Linked DNA regions of Homo sapiens: all the other regions are linked to region 1. The links are contacts of gene promoters, found by promoter capture Hi-C in human tissues and cell types (Jung and others, 2019). All regions are on one chromosome and are shown on one strand. The core of a region is centred on a gene start or on the middle of the fragment in contact, and the rest is flanking DNA. Distances in the headings are between cores, read along the strand shown. Region 1 holds the start of ZNF554 (zinc finger protein 554). Region 2 has its middle 4.1 kb from the start of S1PR4. Region 3 overlaps GNA15 (G protein subunit alpha 15).

Region 1 (3,061 bases), core at 216-2,715:
GTGACAAGGGTGACTAAGAACAGAGCAGGTGACCAAGGATAACTAAGGTCAGAGCAGGTGACAAGGATGACTAAGGTCAGAGCAGGTGACCAAGGATGACTAAGGTCAGAGCAGGTGACCAAGGATGACTAAGGTCAGAGCAGGTGACAAGGATGACTAAGGTCAGAGCAGGTGACCAAGGATGACTAAGGTCAGAGCAGGTGACCAAGGGTGACTAAGGTCAGAGCAGGTGATAGGGGCTAGGAGGGGTTGTTTACTGAAACTAGGGGCAAGGAAACGAAAAGAACGAGGAAGTTAAAGTTTAAAATGAAGAACAAAGAATAGGTGGCCGGGCGCGGTGGCTCACGCCTGTAATCCCAGCACTTTGGGAGGCTGAGGCAGGCGGATCACGAGGTCAGGAGATCGAGACCATCCTGGCTAACACGGTGAAACTCCGTCTCTACTAAAAATACAAAAAAATTAGCCGGGCGTGGTGGCGGGCGCCTGTGGTCCCAGCTGCTTGGGAGGCTGAGGCAGGAGAATGGCGTGAACCTGGGAGGCGGAGCTTGCAGTGAGCCGAGATCGCGCCGCTGCACTCCAGCCTGGGCGACAGAGCGAGACTCCATCTCAAAAAAAAAAAAAAAAAGAACAGGGGAGCTGAATATACGGAAACATTGGTTCTTTGGAGAGGAGCTCATAACTGATTGTACTTAACAATTTACAGGCTAAAACCTTTGAAGAGGAATTTGTTGTATCCTACAACAGTATATTAATTATAGTAGTTTTACTATTTTAATTTCTCATAAATAACAATCAGTAGAATATTAAATAAATATTTAAACAATAATTTAATTTGGCTGGGCGTGGTGGCTCACGCCTGTAATCCCAGCACTTTGGGAGGCCAAGGCGGGCAGATCACTGGAAGTCAGGAGTTCGAGACCAGCCTGGCCAACATGGTGAAACCGCGTCGCTACCAAAAATATAAAAAATTAGCCGAGTGTGGTTGTGCACGCCCGTAATCCCAGCTACTTGGGAGACTGAGGCAGGATAATCGCTTGAACCCGAGGGGGCGGAGGTTTCAGTGACCTGAGATCATGCCATTGCACTCCAGCCTGGGCGACAAGAGCGAAACTCAGTCTCAAAAACAAACAACAATTACTTAAGCAATCATTTTAATAAGTATGTAATACATTATACGTTTATATAACTTGCTTAATAAATAATAGTAGTTATTAATATCCAATGGCAAGCCGCCGGGAAACGACGGAGCTGGGATTTGAGGATTGGCTCCGCGAACCCCACAACACCCGGGGACTCCAGCGAACCACACGGGGTGGATCCAACAGCCGCAGGGGCATCGTGGTCCTGCGGAGACGCCGCCCGCCCGGAGGCGGCGCTGTGACCCAGGTTGGAGAGTCAGGAGCCCAGCGCCGCGCTGCGGGGCCTGCTGGGACTTGTAGTTCGCAGGTTCGGGGTGCGCAGGCGCAGTGCCGAGTTTACCTCTGCGCGCGTCGGGGTTGGTGGCGGCGGCTGCGGCGAGTTCCTGAGGGGCGCCTGCGGGGGGCGTCCGCTCCGAGCGCCGAGGAGCCGAGCGGAGGAGGCGTCCCAGGGACACGCAGGGGAGGCCGGCCGGCCTGCACGGGGCGCTCCCGCCTCGGGGGCCCTGTCTGGCGCCTCAGCGCGCGCCCCGATGGTCACCTGCGCCCACCTGGGCCGGCGCGCGCGGCTCCCGGCAGCTCAGCCGTAAGTGCCGCCGCCTCCCGCGCCGCGACCTCCGTGCCGGGCCTGCCGGGGCTCTGGTGGGGCTGGGTCTGGCGGGGCCGGGTGGCCGGGGCATGACCCTGTCGCGATAGGGTCCCCACGGGAGGGTCGGGAGCCGGCAGCTCGCCCAGGGCCCCAACGCCCAGGATGGCACGGTCTGCCCTTGCCCTGTGAAAACGCCCCTGGGTGAGAGACGCATAAGCTTTCCGAGGCCCAGCCTGCAAGGAGAGGGAGAAGACGCATTGACTCTACCCTAAAGGCAGAGAGGGGCTGCCACGCTCGCACTGCAGTGAGGCCACATCAGAGGGTCTGAGCGAGGGGCGGTCCTGCCCTCCAGGGGACACCGGGCGATGTCTGGGGACGTCTGTGGTTGTCATAACTGGGGGCAGTTCCTGGCATGGAGTAGGTGGAGGCCAGGGATGCAACTCAGCACCCTGCCCAGCCCAGAGAATGACCCAGGCTCCAGTGTCCACAGCGCCCTGAGGGAGAGACCTCACTTATACGTTAGCACCGCTGTCCTGGTGATAAGACAGCAAGGGTCCTTTTTTTTTTTTTTTTGAGACGGAGTCTGGAGTGCAATGGCATGATCTCGGCTCACTGCAACCTCCGCCTCCCGGGTTCAAGCCATTGTCCTGCCTCAGCCTCCCAAGTAGCTGGGATTACAGGCGTATGCCACCACGCCCGGCTAATTTTTGCATTTTTAGTAGAGACGGGGTTTCACCATGTTGGCCAGGCTGGTCTCGAACTCCCACCTCAGGTGATCCACCCGCCTCAGCCTCCCAAAGTGCTGGGATTACAGGCGTGAGCCACCGCGCAGCTGCAAGGGTCTATTCTGTTTATACCCACCACCCATGTTGAGGAATGAGGGAGGCAGCTGACCTTTCTGCTGCTCTAGCAACCCCAACCTCCCTGAACTCTCCCCTACCCAAACAGGTTGGTTTCTTTTTCTTCTTCTTTTTTTTTTCTTGAGACAGTCTCGCCCTATTGCCCAGGCTGGAGTGCAGTTGCACGATCTCGGCTCACTGCATCCACCTCGTGGGTTCAAGTGATTCTCCTGCCTCAGCCTCCCAAGTAGCTGGGATTACAGGTGCACGCCACCCCGCCTGGCTAATTTTTATATTTTTAGTAGATACAGAGTTTCTCCATGTTGGCCAGCCAGGCTGGTATCGAACTCCTGACCTCAGGTGATCCACCTACCTCGGCCTCCCAAAGTGACCACTGCGCCCGGCGCCTTTGGTTCTTACATGAGCCTCCTGGAGCTGCTGTGACAATGCACCACAAACCAGGGGGCAGGGGGAGGCTTGAAATTTATTCTCTCACA
Region 2 (3,061 bases), core at 562-3,061, 360 kb after region 1:
CCCCTCATGGGATGCCTGTGCCCTCATGGGACGCCTGTGTTCTCATGGGATGCCTGTGCCCCTCATGGGATGCCTGTGTTCTCATGGGACGCCTGTGCCCCTCATGGGATGCCTGTGTTCTCATGGGATGCCTGTGCCCCTCATGGGATGCCTGTGCCCTCATGGGACACCTGTGTTCTCATGGGACACCTGTGCCCTCATGGGACGCCTGTGTTCTCATGGGACGCCTGTGCCCTCATGGGATGCCTGTGCCCTCATGGGACGCCTGTGACCTCATGGGATGCCTGTGTTCTCATGGGACGCCTGTGTTCTCATGGGACGCCTGTGCCCTCATGGGACGCCTGTGTTCTCATGGGACGCCTGTGCCCTCATGGGATGCCTGTGCCCTCATGGGATGCCTGTGCCCTCATGGGACGCCTGTGTTCTCATGGGACGCCTGTGCCCCTCATGGGACGCCTGTGCCCTCATGGGACGCCTGTGCCCTCATGGGACGCCTGTGTTCTCATGGGACGCCTGTGCCCCTCATGGGACGCCTGTGCCCTCATGGGACGCCTGTGCCCTCATGGGACGCCTGTGTTCTCATGGGACGCCTGTGCCCCTCATGGGACGCCTGTGTTCTCATGGGACTCCTGTGCCCTCATGGGACGCCTGTGTTCTCATGGGACGCCTGTGCCCCTCATGGGACGCCTGTGTTCTCATGGGACGCCTGTGCCCTCATGGGACGCCTGTGTTCTCATGGGACGCCTGTGCCCCTCATGGGACACCTGTGTTCTCATGGGACGCCTGTGCCCTCATGGGACGCCTGTGTTCTCATGGGACGCCTGTGCCTCTCATGGGACACCTGTGTTCTCATGGGACGCCTGTGCCCTCATGGGACGCCTGTGCCCTCATGGGACACCTGTGTTCTCATGGGACGCCTGCATTCTCATGGGACGCCTGTGCCCTCATGGGACACCTGTGTTCTCATGGGACACCTGTGTTCTCATGGGATGCCTGTGCCCTCATGGGATGCCTGTACCCCTCATGGGACGCCTGTGTTCTCATGGGATGCCTGTACCCTCATGGGACGCCTGTACCCCTCATGGGACATCTGTGCCCTCATGGGATGCCTGTGCCCCTCATGGGATGCCTGTGCCCTCATGGGACGCCTGTGTTCTCATGGGATGCCTGTACCCTCATGGGACGCCTGTGCCCCTCATGGGATGCCTGTGTTCTCATGGGATGCCCGTGCCCCGCATGGGACGCCTGAATTCTCATGGGACACCTGTGCCCTCATGGGACACCTGTGTTCTCATGGGACGCCTGTGTTCTCATGGGACACCTGTGCCCTCATGGGACGCCTGTGTTCTCATGGGACGCCTGTGCCCTCATGGGACGCCTGTGTTCTCATGGGACGCCTGTGCCCTCATGGGACGCCTGTGCCCTCATGGGACGCCTGTGTTCTCATGGGACGCCTGTGCCCCTCATGGGACGCCTGTGCCCTCATGGGACGCCTGTGTTCTCATGGGACGCCTGTGCCCCTCATGGGACGCCTGTGTTCTCATGGGACGCCTGTGCCCTCATGGGACGCCTGTGCCCTCATGGGACGCCTGTGCCCTCATGGGACGCCTGTGTTCTCATGGGACGCCTGTGCCCTCATGGGACGCCTGTGCCCTCATGGGACGCCTGTGTTCTCATGGGACGCCTGTGCCCTCATGGGACGCCTGTGCCCTCATGGGACGCCTGTGTTCTCATGGGACGCCTGTGTTCTCATGGGACGCCTGTGCCCCTCATGGGACGCCTGTGTTCTCATGGGACGCCTGTGCCCTCATGGGACGCCTGTGTTCTCATGGGACGCCTGTGCCCCTCATGGGACGCCTGTGTTCTCATGGGACGCCTGTGCCCCTCATGGGACACCTGTGCCCTCATGGGACGCCTGTGCCCTCATGGGACGCCTGTGTTCTCATGGGACGCCTGTGCCCCTCATGGGACGCCTGTGCCCTCATGGGACGCCTGTGTTCTCATGGGACGCCTGTGCCCCTCATGGGACACCTGTGTTCTCATGGGACGCCTGTGCCCTCATGGGACGCCTGTGTTCTCATGGGACGCCTGTGCCCCTCATGGGACACCTGTGTTCTCATGGGACGCCTGTGCCCTCATGGGACGCCTGTGTTCTCATGGGACGCCTGTGCCCCTCATGGGACACCTGTGTTCTCACGGGACGCCTGTGCCCTCATGGGACGCCTGTGTTCTCATGGGACGCCTGTGCCCCTCATGGGACGCCTGTGTTCTCATGGGACGCCTGTGCCCCTCATGGGACACCTGTGCCCTCATGGGACGCCTGTGCCCTCATGGGACGCCTGCGTTCTCATGGGACGCCTGCATTCTCATGGGACGCCTGTGCCCTCATGGGACACCTGTGTTCTCATGGGACACCTGTGTTCTCATGGGATGCCTGTGCCCTCATGGGATGCCTGTACCCCTCATGGGACGCCTGTGTTCTCATGGGATGCCTGTACCCTCATGGGACGCCTGTACCCCTCATGGGACATCTGTGCTCTCATGGGATGCCTGTGCCCCTCATGGGATGCCTGTGCCCTCATGGGACGCCTGCATTCTCATGGGACACCTGTGCCCTCATGGGATGCCTGTACCCTCATGGGACGCCTGTGCCCCTCATGGGATGCCTGTGTTCTCATGGGATGCCTGTGCCCCTCATGGGACGCCTGCATTCTCATGGGACACCTGTGCCCTCATGGGATGCCTGTACCCTTCATGGGACGCCTGTGTGTGGTTGCCATGATTACTACCTGAGACTGTCACTACGACAGTTACTATTGTTACTACTTGAGACCATCATTACAAGACTGAACGAAGGGACGAATGTAGAAATGAAAACTTAAGACAGAAGAAACTGTTTTAAAGGAAGGGACCAGGGGAAGAAAAAGAGAGCTCCCTGCTTCTAGTGAGCAAAGGCAGCCCCCCAAGCTTCTACAGCCCTTCGTACTTATTGGGTAGAAAGCAGGGGGAGGAAACGATTGGCCAGCTGCTTGATTGTTCACACGTTCACGTTATTGCTAAC
Region 3 (3,061 bases), core at 374-2,873, 340 kb after region 1:
CTGATCCCACTCCCGTCTCAGTCTCCAGAGCCCCCTCTCGACGGCTGCTTACCCTGTCTGGCTCTGGATGTGGGGTTTGAGGGACTCTGAGGATGCATGGGAGGAGTGGGTCTCAGGGATCAGGAGACACATCCAGCAGCTGCAGCCTAACTGCTTCATCATCAGTCCCGGTTTCCCCTCCTGTGCAATGGGGCAAGTCCCTTCTTGCTTGAGGCCCTGGGCCGGGCCCGTCCAAAGCCTCTGTTCTGGGACTTCCTGAGTAACGGTTGCATCCCCAGGGAAATGACGCACAGATGGTTATCAGCGACCCACATTTCTCAGAAGAGAGAGAACAGGAAGGTGGGGGCAGGGTTCAGGCTTTTGTTACGGTGCGTGGGGCTGAGTCACAGATGGAGGGGAGGACGTGTGCTCTGGGAACAGCCCTCATTCCCATCTGTGTGGCCACTGGACATGCCCATGGCCAGCCAGAGCACAGGAGCCCCATAGCACAGATGGGAAAACTGAGTTTTGGAGATGTTTGGCAATTTCCTCCGCCGGGTCGCCCAGCCAGCACCAGGGCACATCTCAGATCTGTCCAACCTGCTCCCCTCTAATATGGGGGTAGAAAGCAGGCAGCCCAGCACAGTAGAAGCTTGGGAAAGTCCCCGCTCCTCCCTGGATCTCAGGCTTCTCATCTGTAAAATGGGCGTAAGACTCATCCTTGCCTCGCGGGAATGACATGGCAAATCCACGAGAGGCTAGCACCTATTCTTGCTGTCGCTATTATGGATCTTGGCATATCCCAGACGTGATGGGGGTTGGGGGTGTCACGGAGCAGGCTCCTGAGCTCTGAAAGGGGGCACCTCGGTTCCCTGTAGGATCGTGGACGTCGGGGGCCAGAAGTCAGAGCGTAAGAAATGGATCCATTGTTTCGAGAACGTGATCGCCCTCATCTACCTGGCCTCACTGAGTGAATACGACCAGTGCCTGGAGGAGAACAACCAGGAGGTGCGCCACCGCCTCCCTCGCCCTGCCCACTTGTTGGCCCAGGGACCCTCACCTGAGCAGGAAGCTCTGGTGCAGAAAGGGAGGGATCCCTGCTCTTGAACGGGCCTGTGTGTGCCCAGCATGGCTATGAACTTGACCCTTCAGCCTTTTGTGGTCAGATTGCAGCAACCCAAGACACAGACCTACAGCATTTGTTTGGTCAGGACCCCAGACACACACACACACACACACACACACACACACACACACACTACAGTGCACACACGCACATACACAATGCATGCACACAAACACGCACAGACACGTGCATAATACATGCACATACACACGTGCACACACGGGACACATGTACACACGCAGTGCACATGCACAACACATGCACACGAACACACATGCACCACACACATGCACACTTGCATGCACTCACGTGCACAATACACGCATATGTACACATGCGCACACACATGAACACACACATGCACACACACAGTACACACATGCACACGCACACACAGGCACACACACGCACACACAGGCACACAGGCACACACATGCGTGCACACACACATGCACGCACACGCACAGGCTGGAGTGCAGTGGCGCGATCTCGGCTCACTGGAAACTCCGCCTCCCGGGTTCACACCATTCTCCTGCCTCAGCCTCCGGAGTAGGTGGGATTACAGGCACCCGCCACCACGCTCGGCTAATTTTTTTTTTGTATTCTTAGAAGAGAGGGGGTTTCACCATGTTAGCCAGGATGGTCTCAATCTCCTGACCTCGTGATCCGCCCGCCTCGGCCTCCCAAAGTGCTGGGATTACAGGCGTGAGCCACTGTGCCCAGCCAATAGCCTCTTTTAATAAGTACACCAGTCGTCTAGGATCAGGGCCCACCCTACTCCAGTACGACCTCATCTGGGTTAATTCCTCGTGTGATGGCCCTGTTTCCAAAGAAGGTCACAAACTGAGGTTCTAGGGGGTTAGGTCTTGAACGTATGAATTTTGGGGAAATATGATGTACCCCATAACACAAGGCATTTGAGACCTTATTGTACTTTTTTTTTTGAGATGGAGTCTCGCTTTTGTCGCCCAGGTTAGAGTGCAGTGGCGCGATCTCAGCTCACTGCAACCTCCGCCTCCCGGGTTCAAGCGATTTTCCTGCCTCAGCCTCCCGAGTAGCTGGGTTTACAGGCACCTGCCATCATGCCCGGCTAATTTTTTGTATTTTTAGTAGAAACGGGGTTTCACCATGTTAGCCAGGCTGGTCTCCAACTCCTGGCCTCAGGTGATCTGCCCGCCTTGGCCTCCCAAAGTGCTAGGATTACAGCCGTGAGCTGCCGCGCCCGGCCAGGTCTCCCTCTTCTTATGAGGACAGCAGTCACGGACTTGAGGGCCACCGTATTCTAGTATTGCCTCACCTTAACGACCTCTTCAAAGACCCTATCTCCAGGCCAGGTGCAGTGGTTCATGCCTATAACCCCAGCACGCTGGGAGGCCAGGAGTTCAAGAATCTCTCTCCAGATAAGGTCACACTCTGAAGCTCTGGGGGGACATGAATTTCGGGAGGACACACTTCCAACCAGCACAGGCACAAAACCATGTCAGGCACACCCAGGCAGCTGTCCATATGGAAACACGGGCACACCCGCCTCAGCCCCAGCCAGGCAGATAGGGGTGAGCCCATGCCCCTGGAGCCAACAGCCCCGTCTCCGCGATGGGAGGGTTTCCTGTCCCACCTGGCTGGTTGAAGCACTAACCTGCTTCTGCCCCCAACACAGAACCGCATGAAGGAGAGCCTCGCATTGTTTGGGACTATCCTGGAACTACCCTGGTTCAAAAGCACATCCGTCATCCTCTTTCTCAACAAAACCGACATCCTGGAGGAGAAAATCCCCACCTCCCACCTGGCTACCTATTTCCCCAGTTTCCAGGGTAAGTAATTCTAGAACTTTCTATACCCTTCAACTCCCAAAAGCAGCTCCGAAGAGAGATGCTAATCCAGACTCTACTTCAGCCTGGAGTCACCGGAACTTTCACATAGGATCAGACCCGCGTTCTAGACTCAGCTCCATCCACT

What was found. Contacts are between HindIII fragments. The study calls those that stand out against the background at their distance.
Region 2: a fragment that was not itself captured here is called in contact with the fragment with the promoter of ZNF554 in region 1 in 2 of the 25 tissues and cell types used here (H1 embryonic stem cells and mesenchymal stem cells).
Region 3: a contact is called between a fragment that was not itself captured here and the fragment with the promoter of ZNF554 in region 1, in 2 of the 25 tissues and cell types used here (dorsolateral prefrontal cortex and mesendoderm cells).

The regions. Positions count from the first base shown.
Region 1 is chr19:2,818,403-2,821,463 of GRCh38, forward strand. It overlaps ZNF554 (zinc finger protein 554), which reads left to right and starts at 1,466. Exons shown (of 5, transcript NM_001102651.2): 1 at 1,466-1,722. The coding sequence starts at 1,670. RefSeq lists a silencer at 1,505-1,944 and an enhancer at 1,877-2,570. The HindIII fragment of the contact is 22,652 bases long and covers 1-3,061 here.
Region 2 is chr19:3,173,114-3,176,174 of GRCh38, forward strand. No RefSeq gene overlaps it. Among named protein-coding and RNA genes, the nearest start is that of S1PR4, 4.1 kb to the right of the region's middle. The HindIII fragment of the contact is 3,498 bases long and covers 63-3,061 here.
Region 3 is chr19:3,154,966-3,158,026 of GRCh38, forward strand. GNA15 (G protein subunit alpha 15) reads left to right here. Exons shown (of 7, transcript NM_002068.4): 5 at 858-987; 6 at 2,763-2,916. GNA15-DT (GNA15 divergent transcript) reads right to left here and starts at 210. Exons shown (of 4, transcript NR_110670.1): 1 at 53-210. RefSeq lists enhancers at 1-783, 71-400, 441-530. The HindIII fragment of the contact is 4,542 bases long and covers 1-3,061 here.